Linked DNA regions of Homo sapiens: region 1 is linked to region 2. Evidence: promoter capture Hi-C in 16 types of primary human blood cells and fetal thymus (Javierre and others, 2016). All regions are on one chromosome and are shown on one strand. Each heading gives the region's core, a stretch centred on a gene start or on the middle of the fragment in contact. The rest is flanking DNA. Distances are from core to core; before and after follow the strand shown. Region 1 overlaps FOXN3 (forkhead box N3). Region 2 holds the start of FOXN3 (forkhead box N3).

Region 1 (6,223 bases), core at 3,375-5,874, 150 kb after region 2:
CTTCCCCAGCTGAACCGAAGTGATACCTTCAGGAATGTTTCAAACTGTTTTCAGTCTCTCTGAAGCTCCTGATGCATAAGGCAAATACCCACAGGATGGCCATGGAAGGAGTGGAATAGGAGTCCTGACTGGCTATCCTTTCTGACCCTTCTGAGTGACTAAGATCCTGCAGAAATGTGACAGAAAAAGAAAGTTCCTTGGAGATGGGCTGGAATTGCTTGTGATCTGTCCCTCTGATTGTGTTAGAACGCTTCCAGCCAGGTCCAGGTCCGTTCTGCCTTAGCACAGCGAATCAATCACTGTGACATGGAGGGTTTTCCAAAAGAGAAAAGATTTGTTCAGAAAGGTACCAAGTGAGGCAGGAGAACAGCTCTCAAATCCACCTCCCTGAAGACAAGGCTCGGGGATATTTATGGGTTAGGGAAGCAGGGTGGTCTAACGTGTGGGGAAAAGTGATTGGCAATGGGGAAAAAATGAAGTAACAGGTTCATTCTGCACAAGCATAGTCGGGGTTCATGGCATCTCAAAGGAAGTATGTTCAGTAAATGGCAGCATTAGCGTGATCTGGGGGAGGTGGAGCTTTTGGCCCTCCAATGTCAAAAGGCCACCTCTCCGGCACTTGCTCAGGCCCAGTTGAAGGGGCAGTGGTCCTAACTGGTTTGAACTGGACAGGAGCTTGCCCTAGTTTCTGAAAAACAACTGTTGCGACCATTACCGTGGTGACCTATGAATGTTATCTGTAAAGTAGCCAGTGAAGGTCAAGTTCCAGCATTCAGTGGCAAGGCCTCAGCTTCATGGAAAAAGGAAAAAAAAAAACAAAACAAAACAAAAAGCAAGTGACCAAAAGCAAGCAGTACAGGCAGATCCGATCAAATTAACCCCTTGGTTTCAAGAATGCAAACTAGACTAAGACATTTGCAAAGACTAGTTTCAGAGACCACAGGGAGACTGCAAGACAGCCAGCCATACTTGCAGTGATACGGAACTTTACAAAGTCATTGAAGGGCTTGTGCTGAACTTCTCCCTACCTCATGGTCACCGCAGCATACACTGGTTGGCCCCTCTTTCCGTAGGCTGTGATTTCTAATGGGGCTTGATCAGGATGATCTGGTCCTGCTAATTTGACACAGTTGCAGTTTGGAGTTAGAACCACAGGTCTTGGTGTTGATGACGTCTGCCAGTAGAGATGCTCCCAACGTCCTAGTTGTGGATTCATTTCCCACATTTTGAGGAATTTTGTGAGGATATTGTGATAAGAAACAAGAAGGCTGTGACATGTATAAAGGTCGATTGTGTGCTGATCATTTGTGTATTGTATTTCTCAGGCTCTGGGAGACTTTTGTCTCTGTGTTTTGCCATGCATGGCCTGGAAAAGAAATAGTTATGAAGTTTTCACTTTTTGCAGCTGTCATGGGCCCAAGTTGCGGTGGCTCACATGGACAGTATGGGTTCCAGGAACCCTGTCAGGACAGCTTTCTCCTCCCACCCCTCCACTTCCCATAGATTCCAAATGGGAGGTGCCAGCTTCTTACAGAAACTCCCTGGCCTTAGTGACTGGTGGAGGGATAGGCACGTGGCCCAGTCCAGGCCAGAATTCCACCCTAGGCTTCACATCCTGGCTCTGGGAGCTCCACAGGGTGTGCTGGCCTCACGAGCCCTGCACATGGAATCTGCTGGGGTACGGGAAATGGCACCAGCCCAGAGACGCACAGACAGGGGCCACTCTCTCCTTGCCCTACCTGTGGCTGGATTTGATGGGCTCATCAATTCTCCTTTATACTTAAGCCAGCTTGAATTGGGTTTTTCTTATGTACAGTCGAGAGTCATGATGAATACAGTGTTTCTAATTAACAGTGTTAGTTAAACTAAGTATACAGCACTGGTGATTTCTGTGTGTCAGTGTCATTTCAGCCTCTTTGTTGTCTTAAGAGGCCCACTTAGTGGTTTGACTGTCCCTTGAGAGAATAGAAGGTGAGCTTGGAGAGTTTTCAGAGACAGTGACTTGATTTAAAGAAAGTAGGATCATAGTAGTAATACTCCTCACATCCACGTATCCCCCATTATAGCTGCAGAGACCTGGCTTACATGTAATTTCACTTACTTCTTGAGAGGTAGGTGGTATCTTCCTGATCTTACAGATGAAGAAACAGAAGCTTAAAGTCGAGCATTTGGCTAAACCAAGCAGCATATATGTATATGTGTAAATTAATGTGTAGCTGTATGTGTGTGTAGGTGCATATATGTTTAAGTGTGATGAGCATGTGTGTGTGTATGTGTGTGTATGTATTATTATGAAGGATTTTCAGAGTCAGGATTCAAAGCCAGGTCCCTCAAATGCTAAATTCAGGTCTATAGCACAAATGCTATTTTAGGCAATCCCCATTTCCTCCAAGTTCATTGACTCACATGTCCAACCAATGCCATTTATAGTTAGATGGCCTTATATAGAGAAGAACTGTGTTCACCCCCTGCCACGGCCCCCACCGCCAACACGCACGCATACTCTGATCGTTTTGGAAATGGAACACATTTTCTCTTTTAACATCTGATCTTCCCCTCACTGCATTTTAGATTCATTGTGAACAATTTTGAGTCTCATTAGAGGTGTCTTAATTTTAAAAATTAAGTTGGGAACTAGCAAGTGAGATTGAAGAGGCTATATCTTTGGTTCTGACCTGGATTTTCTTTACTCAATTACTCTTCAAATTATACTGATTTGAGATGTGATTATTATTATTTTTCCTAAGTAGATTGGATAATGAGAGAAATGCAAAGGCATGCTAGACTAATAGTGATCTGAGTTTCTGCTACCTCACTTGTCCTTCCATTTCCCCTCCCCCAGCCAGAGCACCGCCCCAGCCCCTGCTTCCTGGTCTACCTGGTGAGCCACCTAACCTAGCGAAGGCAGCTGCTTCCCTGTCTTTCCAGCGTCAGCCCAGCTATGACCACTGCAGCGCCAGGGATCCTGGCCAACTTGCGCATTGTAATCACGTGATGCAGTGCTCACCATCCTGCAGCAGTTTCCCATGTTAGTTCCCAGCCCTTCCTTATATGCCTCATTTAAATGTAAGATTTAAATTGTACCGTCTACCCTGAGAACCCACTGTGTAGCCACCCTCATCTCCTCAGGGTCAAACCTGCTCACAGTACCTTTATCAGAATTGCCCCTCAACTGCTTGAAACACATTTCTTTCATCTCCCTGTCTTTTTTCCTGTAGGGAAGAAGGGAAGAAGGTAAACTACCTAAAAGGGAGATGGTGATGTTTTCTCCCCGCATCCTGCTTCATCACTTTTCCCCTTTGCTTTTACATACACACGTGTCATGCTCAAGTGCTGTCTGTGCATTGACTCATGGCTCGTGCCTTTGGTATGAGCCTCATTACTGGGTGAGCTTCGCCAAATGAGCTTTTGGTGTTGCTGCAAATACAATGGCGTCTCTTTTGTTTTAGGGCCTGGAGTGACATTGTGATGGAGAAGTGCACAGTTGACCATATTGAGCCGGTCAGGAGGGTAGATTTAAGAGAGGCAGCAACAGCAGCCTCTCGTATAAGCAGCAGAGTCTTCCCTGACACCTTACTTATTTCCCCCAGGATCTGAGCTCATTCGCCATGGCAGGAACCACTAAGATTGTTTGGTTATCCCGTTACTTCTGTCTTCCAGCCAGACTGTAATCTCCTTGAGGCTGGAGTTTTCTTATCTCTATCTCCAGCACCTTGCAGGTTACCCAGCACACGGTAGGAGATCAATGAAGGTTTGTAAAATATATCCATGTAACTTACTGTTATGGACTGAATTGCATCTCCACCGCCCCCCCAGCCGCCTCCAAAATTTATATGTTGAAGCCTTCACCACCACCGCCCCGCATGTGACTGAATTTGGAGATAGAGCCGTTAAAGAGGTAATTAAGATGAAATGAGGACATAAAGGAGGAGTTTTTATAAGGACTGGTGTCTTTGTAAGAAGAGATACCAGGAATGTACATGTACTGAGGAAAGGCCACGTGAGGACACAGTGAGAAGTCGGTCACCTGCAAGCCAGGGAGACAGCCTCAGGAGAACCCAAACGTGCCACCTCTTTGCTCTTTGATGTCGGACTTCTAGCCTCCAGAACTGTGAGAACATCAGTTTTTGTTCTTTAAACCACCCAGTCTTAGTATTTTGTTCTGGCAGCCTGAACTGACTTAATATATTTACCAACTGTCCTAGCACCTTGTATCCCAAAGCTGGGACTGTAGGGGTCAACTTTGGCTGCTAAGGGCAGTTTGGGAAGATCCCAAGGTTGGCTGCTTAAGATAAATCCACAGTAATGGGCAGCTGTGTCCCACCCTGCACTCCTCCTTCACCACCAGTGAGGCAAGTCTGGCTAAGGCTGTTTCAGGCATTCCCACCCTACCAGGGAACGTGAATGTCATCATCAACTAAGATTCTGGGCCTCTTGGAAATTGTTTTAACTTGACCTACATCACCGTATGCCCCGAGACCTTGGCAGTTCTGTACACCCATGAATAATAGCAATTAGCATGAAAAGAAAGCTGAAAGAGTCTCAAGTAGGACGATCTGCAGTCTGGCCTTGGACCTTCCACTTACTAGCTGTGTATACTTGCATGTGTAATTTTACCTTTTTGGGGTCTATGATTTGTTTTTAAAAGTGGACGTGCTGCTATAATGGACAGTTCCTTTTCCCTCTTTTAGGCATTAACCCTGGCTTGCAGGTGGAGAGCCCTCCATCCCCCCAGTTCATTCATCTGTGTGCTTCCAAGTGACGTCTCTACCACTAGTTTAAGTCACTCTCATTCCTCTGGCTACACTGGTGTGTCTGGGTGGTCATGTGATAGAGGCTGGTCTGATTACAGTGATTCTCAGACCTTTTCCAGTGAACACTGGGGAAATGCTAGATTCAAAGCTGCTGTTTGTAGCCCCAGGGGCTGCCGGCAGCCACCTGTGAACAGAGGAGAGCCTGTCCAAGCCTATTTTCACCAGCAGCGTTGCTGAGTTGGGGGACAGAGAGTAGGGCTTGGTAAATGCCATTTGAAAGGCATCACTGTTCCTGGTTTTCCCAGTCACAGGCGATAAAATCTCTTCAATTCGGTTTTTAAAAATCGCTAAAGATGGAAAGATTACTAGCTGATAAAGCTATTAACACCTGCCCTGTACACCATACAGGAGCTACAGGAGCTTTCATAATACAATTTCTAAATAAGATCATGAAGGCAAAGGCAAAGGTTGTGACATACAGTTTGAACACAGGGAATTATTATTTGGAAAATCCAAATAATAATTTGGTGACTGGTGCCTCTTGGACTCAATATCATGCTCTTTGAACATCTGTGAAAAGATGTGTACATTCTTAGCACAGTGTCACCTGGTAAGGAATGAATATATGGAAGCTGTTGTTATCATCAGTAAGAATTATTGCAGCAGTGATAGGAGGGGGATGTAGAAGTCTTTGAGAATTTTGATTTGATGATGAAGATAGCTGCATGGAATCCTACTTGAGAAGGAACTGATTCTGTTTCTTTTGGGGTTAGGTGGTACCAGCATCCTCCTGATGTGGATGGCACTTGTTTGTGGAAACTGAGTAGCGTCCTCATAGCCAGGTTCCTGACGATGGAAACTCATGGGGAGCCCTTTCCTTGTGAGCCCACCCTGAGGGTGTTCCTGCTCTTCTTGGGCCTGATTCTCATCTGATCACCTTGGCTGTATGTTGCCCCAGCCAAGGACAGTATACAAAGACAGGCCAAGGTTCTGGTTATCCTTGTGATGTGATATAGTTTGGCTGTGTCCCCACCGAAATCTTATCTTGAATTGTAGCTCTCATAATTCCCATGTGTTATGGGAAGGGACCCCATGGGAGATAATTGAATCATGGGGGTGATTTCCCCATGCTGTTCTGTCATGTTAGTGAATAAGTCTCATGAGATCTGATGGTTTTATAAGGGTTTTCCCCTTTTGCTTGGCTCTCTTGATTTCTCTCTCGTCTGCTGCCATGTAAGATGTGTCTTTCGCCTTCTGCTGTGATTGTGAGGCCTCCTGAGCCATGTGGAACTGTGAGCCCATTAAACCTTTTTCTTTACAAATTACCCAGTCTCGGGTATGTCTTTATCAGCAGCATGAAAATGGACTAATACAGAGTGCAAGGTAATGATTAGGGAGGACAAGAGGGGGGCTCCTCAGGTGCCAAGAGCCCCCTGTTAGTTCATAGGGTGCTGATTACATGGTAAATT
Region 2 (6,817 bases), core at 423-2,922:
TGTAAGGGGGCGACTTCGTCCTCTCTAGGCCAGCAAGGGCTTGGACAAAGGTCTCTGGCCTTGGTTCCTCTGGCGGAGAATAAGCACCCTCAACTGACGCGCTGATGGAGGGGCAGGACCTGCATTAGCCGGAGCTACAGGAAAGCAGGGTACACATTGTCTCATCCTGGCTTTGTTACCACTTCTAACCCTGAGAATCTCTGGCGTGAGACTTCAAAGATCATCTGACTTGTCTCTGCCACCTTGTGCCTTTTGCTTAGTGACTTTGGGTAGGTCGCATCAAGTGCTCAGTAATCAAAGGGGTGGGGCTGGATGACCTCAGGCTACCCCTGGGCTTCCACCTCCTAATTGTCTCCAGATGGGGAGATGCCACACAACTTGGAAGTAGTAAGGTCTCCGGTGAGTCTGAAAGGCACATCTTTGCTGAAGACTTGTCACCTGCCCTCTTGAACCTTTGTTAGGGGGAATGACTCTCAGATTGGGGGGGGGGGGTCTATTTTTTGAGACAGAAAAAATTTTCAGAAGCCTAACTGGTGTTTCCCTTAGTCCCTCCTTTTGGCTAGGTTTAAAAGTACTGCATGCTAGAAAGCTTTCTCCAGGTCTACTCGCTGTTTTTTTCTGTAGTTTTCAGACCGCTCACGATGTCCTGTCCACTGGCTCAGGAGGGGGTGGCAGGAAGGGTGCCCTGGGCTTCTCCTCTGTAGAGGAACCAACCAATTTGGCTACCTGGGAGTAATGTGCAATCACATTTTTATTTTTGTCACCACCAGGGTGTCCTGTTGGACTCTCTCCTCTCATCCTCTCCCAAGGCGGCTGGTTGGTGTGGCTTTAGCAGTGGGTGCTATTATTTGGAGGTGCCTAGAGACTTAGAGTGGTGGCTGCACCATTTCGCTGGGTGGCTTGCGAATTGTCAGTCTGGTTCCTGAGAGCTCAAACTGAGATGGAAATGAGACCTGTTTTCTCTCTAGGCCGGCCGGGGCGTTCCGCACAACCCACTTGAGAGGCCCCACCGGCGTGGCCTTTAGGACGGTGCCTCTTGTCTTGTAATGGCCACCGGCCCTCCCTCGGGAGACACGCGGCCACCTGGGTGGGACGCTGCGGTGCTTACCTCCGGGACACGAGGTGGTCGCTGGGAGAGGGCTCGGAAGGCCCTGGGGGTCCTATCAGGACGCAGCACTGGGGAGACGTGGAATCTCCTCTTCTCACCCCCACAAGCCTCGCCCGCATCGTAATTCTTTTTATTTTTACTTTCGAGCCATGTAAGGCATGCAGATGGGGTAGGAGCGTTCCCGCGACACGTTGCCAGCAGCGCAGCGCCGGCCCGCTCGTGTGGCCGGAGCCCGGGGAGGGGACAGGGCACGCGCCGCCTGACCCACCTGCCCCACCGCCCACGGTCGCGGCCGCCCTGGGTCGCGGGACCCGCGCCGGTCACCCCCGCCCCGCGGGGCCCAAGAGGCGAGGCCGCGCGGCCCAGCCCCGGCCTCCGCCCTGGCTGAGTGCTGGGGCGCGCGAGGGGCGCGGGCAGGGTCCGCCCCGGCGGGTCAGTGCCCCGCGCCCCAGGCCGCTGGCGGCCAGGCCCACGTTTTCCCTTTCTCCGGCTCCCTCCGCCCTCCGCTCTGTCCCTCCCTCCGCCCTCCTCCCTCCCCGCGCTTCCCCTCCTCCTGCCTGGTCATGTGTCGCCTTTTTTTGTTTGCAGTGGAAACAATTTCTCGCCGCTCGGCGCGCCCCGGCCCGACGCGCCGCGGCGGAGGCGAGCGGGAGGCGGGACGGGGCGGGGAGAGCGGCGGGGCCGGCGGGAGGACGCGCGGCGCGCCCGGCGGACGCCGCAGGTCCCATGCCGCGCCGCGACCCCCGCGCCCCTGCCGCCCGCGCCCGCGGCCGCCCCCCGCCGCCCGCCGCCCCGGGCTCGCCGCGCCGCGCCCGCGCGTCCTTAGCGGGGCCACCGAGCGATGCCCGCCGGGCGCCCGCGAAAGTTTGTCGGCTCCTGCTGAAGGGCAGCGGCGCCCCCGCACCCCCGTGCCCCGCTCCGGCCAGGTGAGTTTGCACCCCGCTCCTGCCGGCTCCCGCGTGGGCTCGGGGGGCACCCGGGGCGGGAGGCGCGTCCGAGACGGTCCTGGAGACTACCTCGCCGCTCTGGGAAGACGAGGGACCCCGCAGGTCCTGGGGGGAGGGTCGGGTGTGGACCCCGGGAGCCCCCGAGCCGGGAAGTTGCCGGGTCCGAAGAGTTTCCTGCCCCGACGTGCGTGCTGCTTCCCGGTGCCTCGGTTTCCGAAAAGACGCCCGCAAGGAACAGAGTTGGTATTGTCTGCGGAGGACGGGGTCCCCGCCGTTCCGGGCCGGGGAGGGGGTTCCGATCAAGTGGAGACCCCAAGATGAGAAACAGGCTCCTAACAAAGATCACCCCCCGGCCAAACTGTGCAGACTTGGCACAGGCAACGAACGTCTCCGGAGACCCCCGAGGCCCGACCCCCCTCATCCCGGCCCTGTTTGAAACCCTCCTTGGGCCCTGGATAAGTTGGGGGACGGCGGGCTTTTATTGATTTGTTTTCGAGGCTCGCCGCGGTGCGGCCAATAAAAGGTTTATGACATCTGACCGGCAGTGAAGGTATGCGAGCTCCCAATTGCCCTGTATATGGGGATAAGAGCAGTTTCCCCCGTTGCCCGGCAACGCCGCTGATTGACGCGGGGTGCAGCCAATCGCCACTCCCGCAGGTCCCCTTGAAATGTTTTTGACAAGTACAGTAGACGAGAGTGAAGCGCGTGCGTGCGCGCGCGCGCGTGCTGGGTGGGCGGGGGTGACCCGGCCCCCCAAACTCGCTACTGCTCGGCTCTGGGAAGATTTCTTAACTTTTTAAAGTTCGCATCGAACATCTGTTCAGAGCTGGGCCAGTAATGTCTTTGTCAGTTATTTGGAGACCTTCTGTTTACTAGGCGAGAAACTAAGCTTTCTTGCCGCATTTTCTCCGTTAAAAAATAAAGAGGGTAACAAAACACAGCAAGTCATAAAAAAAACAAAAGAGGGTGTGTGTGTGTGTGTGTGTGTGTGTGTGTGTGTGTAGAGAAAAGTTGTAAGGAGGTCACCAGTGAATAACTATTTGCGTATCTGGTGGAGCAGCCTTGTTGGCAGCAGATTAAAAATGTTTGCTTAACTGCAACTCACATGATCCAGATTCTTTTTTTTTCCCTCTGAAACAGGAGGAAAAAAAGATTTGGCGAAATCTGTAGTTAGAGTATAATAATGGAAAACTCCTCAGCTGTGGTTTCTGGGAACTGTTTTTTTTTTTTTTTTTTTTTTTTTTTGGTTATTGTTGTTTTGTTTTGTTTTTACATGGAACTGTAGTGATCAGCAGCTCTTCACCCTGTTGGTATAAAATGCGGGATTTATAGGGATGCAGTGAGTGGTTGGAGAGTACGGGGTCCCAGCACAAAACGCACACATGATCCAAGGGTACTGAACTCCCATAACCCTCTCTTCGTGACAATGCCACTTTTTCTCCTAAAACCATATTGCTGGCAGTGTTTGTTTAAAACAAAAGGAAACATGGAGAATAGCGTGTTAGTTCCTCTGGGAAGCTACTGACAAATAAGCAAATTAAAAAGAAAGAGAGCAGCATGTTGTCATAGCAACAGTGCAATTAAATTACTTTACTGTCAGCCATGATATAATTTTCCTGTTTGGAAGCTCAGGAGACATAAAACTTTCATTTAGAGCTAAAGTTGACTTCAGTGGCTGGGTAGTTCTGTTTTATACTCTACTGTGGGCATATGCTGGTCATCAGAAAATTTTCTGATGGGATCTGAGGAAACTTTAAGAAAGACAAGTGGTGCTATAATTCGTTCATAAAGAAGTTAAAAGCAGGATCAGACCAGACTCTGTTGTATCCCCAAGCCAAAAGATGCTAGCTTGTTTTTTGTCTGAAATGTGTCAGGGTAACCTCCTTATTTGACAGAAAGAAATATTCCCTGTGAGTGAACCCAAGACGTCTGGAGCATCCTGCCTGGTCTGTACTGCAATGCCTCATGAAGTTTTCTCTCCTTAAGAGTTGGGCATCTTGGCCAGGCGCGGTGGCTCACGCCTGTAATCCCAGCACTTTGGGAGGCCGAGGCGGGTGGATCACGAGATCAAGAGATTGAGACCATCCTGGCCAACATGGTGAAACCCCGTCTTACTAAAAATACAAAAATTAACCAGTCATGGTGGCACACGCCTGTAGTCCCAGCTACTTGGGAGGCTGAGGCAGGAGAATCTCTTGAACCTGGGAGGCAGGGGTTGCAGTGAGCGGATTTTGCACCACTGCACTCCAGCCTGGGCAACAGAGTGAGACTCTGTCTCAAAAAAAAAAAAAAAAAAAACCGGTTGGGCCTCTCACCACAGCTCCCCCTTAGGCCTTGCGTCTAGCAGGTTCTACCTTTTGGAAGAGGGAAGGTACTATAATTCACAGGCACCCTTGGCTGGTAGGTTAGTGCCCAGGATTATGCCTTCTAGAATTCCCTAATAGAGCTTCCACAGCTGAAGTGGCAGTTGTTTTAGATGTGGTGTTAATGAACATTTAAGAGACATAGAAGGGTCATGTCTTTGCCTTTTTAATTTTATTTATTTATTTTTTTGAGACAGGGTCTCCCTCTGTTGCCCAGGCTGGAGTGCAGTGAGCCTCAACCTCCTGGGCTCAAGTGATCCTCCCACCTCAGCCTCCCAAGTAGCTGGGACTACAGGCACACACCACCACACCTAGCGAATTTTTGTATTTTTTTGGTGGAGATGGCGTTTTACCATGTTGGCCAGGCTGGTCTTGAACTTCTGAGCTCAAGGGATCCTCCTGCCTCAGACTCCCAAAGTGATGGGATTATAAGCATGAGCTACCATGCCTGGCCTATGTCTTTGCTTTTAAATATGTTCATTCATCCCTCCTCCTTCTTCTCCTCCTCCTCCTCCTCCTCCATCCCTCCTCCTCCTCCCCCTTCTCCTCCCCCTCCCGCTTCTTCCTCCTTCCTCCCCTTGCCCTGCCCTGCCCTGCCCTTCCCTGCCCTTCCCTTCTCTTGCCCTCCCTTCCCCTCCTCTCCTCTCCCCTCCCTTCCCTTCCTTTTCCCTTCTCTTTCCCTTCCTTTCTTCTTTCCCTTCCCTTCTTTTTTTCCTTCTTCTTTCCCTTCTTCCTTCCCTTCCCTTCTCCCTTCCCTTCCCCCTTCTCTTCCGTTCCCTTCCCCCTTCTCTTCCGTTCCCTTCCCCCTTCTCTTCCATTCCCTTCCCTTCTTCCTTACCTTCTTCAAAACTTTTGAGACAGCATCTCACTCTGTTGCTCAGGCTGGAGTGCAGTGGTACAGTCATGGCTCACTGCAGCCTCAGCTTCTTGGGTTCAAGCAGTCCTCCCACTCAGCCTCCCAAGTAGCTGGGACTACAGGCACATGCCACCATGCCCGGCTAATTTTTGTATTTTTCATAGAGATGGGGTTTCGCCATGTTGCCCAGGCTGGTCTCAAACCCCTGGGCTCAAGTGATCCTCCTGCCTCAGCCTCCCAAAGTGGTGAGATTATAGGCGTGAGCCACCATGCCCAGCCTGTTCATTTGTTTTCTAGGTAGATGCTTGATTTTCTTACTGTTCGTTTGTGGGGGGAATTAAAACCTAACAGTTTTAAACCAAGCATATTGTTTTAGCGCTACGGAGAGTGGGAGACCTTTTTGGTTATCTTTACTGTTCTTTCTGTGTTACGTTGGGTGCTGGAGGGTTGAACATGCTTTGTGTCTGTAGGGGTCATTCTGTTTGTAAACGTACCACCTCCTCGTTTTCTTTTCTCATCAGATGTTATTTTACTCCGTGTTCTAGGTCATTGATAAAAATGGGGATGGTGGTGGGTCGGGGTGGAGGGATAGAATTCTATGGCATGTTTTGTTGAATTGAATTGAATTTGCTGTCTTGAAACTGGCAGTTGCTCTCCTGACTTTTTTCACCAGCTCTAATTTCAGTTAATGGCTTATCTTACATTCCCATGTATTCTGTGTGGTACCTGAAGTTACTTGCTTTTCTTCTGTTCTGGAAGAAAAAATAATTCACAGTAAAATTTAACGTACTTTAAAACTGGTCTCCTGGTCTCAAGCAATCGTCCCGCCTCAGCCTCCCAAAGTGCTGGGATTACAGGCGTGAGCCACCGTGCCTGGCCGGTGTTACTGGTCTTATTTTATTTAAGGGGCATCAGGTCACCTTGCTATATGAATGGCGGGCTGATTTTTCTCATCAGCCTATCTCTCTGTGGTGGAATTGTGGGATTGTGTTGCTTAGTGTGGGAGTCACAAGGTGGTGTTCCTGTGTAGCAGGGGTTCCATAGAGGCGGCAGAGGGAGGCAACAGGATCAGAGGGGTACAGTCTGCCTTTCTGTTTTGGGCCTCGCCAGCTCATCATTTCTTTGTGATGTCTTTACTAGGAGCCTTCACGTAAATGGGTCCAGTCATGCCTCCCAGTAAGAAGCCAGAAAGCTCAGGAATTAGTGTCTCCAGTGGACTGAGTCAGTGTTACGGGGGCAGCGGTTTCTCCAAGGCCCTTCAGGAAGACGATGACCTCGACTTTTCTCTGCCTGACATCCGATTAGAAGAGGGGGCCATGGAAGATGAAGAGCTGACCAACCTGAACTGGCTGCACGAGAGCAAGAACTTGCTGAAGAGCTTTGGGGAGTCGGTCCTCAGGAGTGTCAGCCCCGTCCAGGACCTGGACGATGACACCCCCCCATCCCCTGCCCACTCTGACATGCCCTACGATGCCAGGCAGAACCCCAACTGCAAACCCCCCTACTCCTTCAGCTGCCTCATATTTATGGCCATCGAGGACTC

The links. The method cuts DNA at HindIII sites, captures the fragments that hold promoters and counts their contacts. A CHiCAGO score of 5 or more calls a contact.
Region 1: a fragment that was not itself captured here is called in contact with the fragment with the promoter of FOXN3 in region 2 in 1 of 17 cell types (total B cells); the score reaches 5.5 in total B cells.

Annotation. Positions count from the first base shown.
Region 1 is chr14:89,264,079-89,270,301 of GRCh38, reverse strand. The region is part of intron 4 of FOXN3 (forkhead box N3); the gene reads left to right. Among named protein-coding and RNA genes, the nearest start is that of FOXN3-AS3, 83 kb to the left of the region's middle. The HindIII fragment of the contact is 4,938 bases long and covers 2,156-6,223 here.
Region 2 is chr14:89,412,088-89,418,904 of GRCh38, reverse strand. It overlaps FOXN3 (forkhead box N3), which reads left to right and starts at 1,672. Exons shown (of 6, transcript NM_005197.4): 1 at 1,672-2,034; 2 at 6,415-6,817. The coding sequence starts at 6,429. FOXN3-AS1 (FOXN3 antisense RNA 1) reads right to left here and starts at 1,551. Exons shown (of 2, transcript NR_036500.1): 1 at 1,109-1,551. RefSeq lists silencers at 1,291-1,580, 1,621-1,830 and enhancers at 1,526-1,820, 1,445-1,977, 1,978-2,511, 2,526-2,820. The HindIII fragment of the contact is 2,355 bases long and covers 592-2,946 here.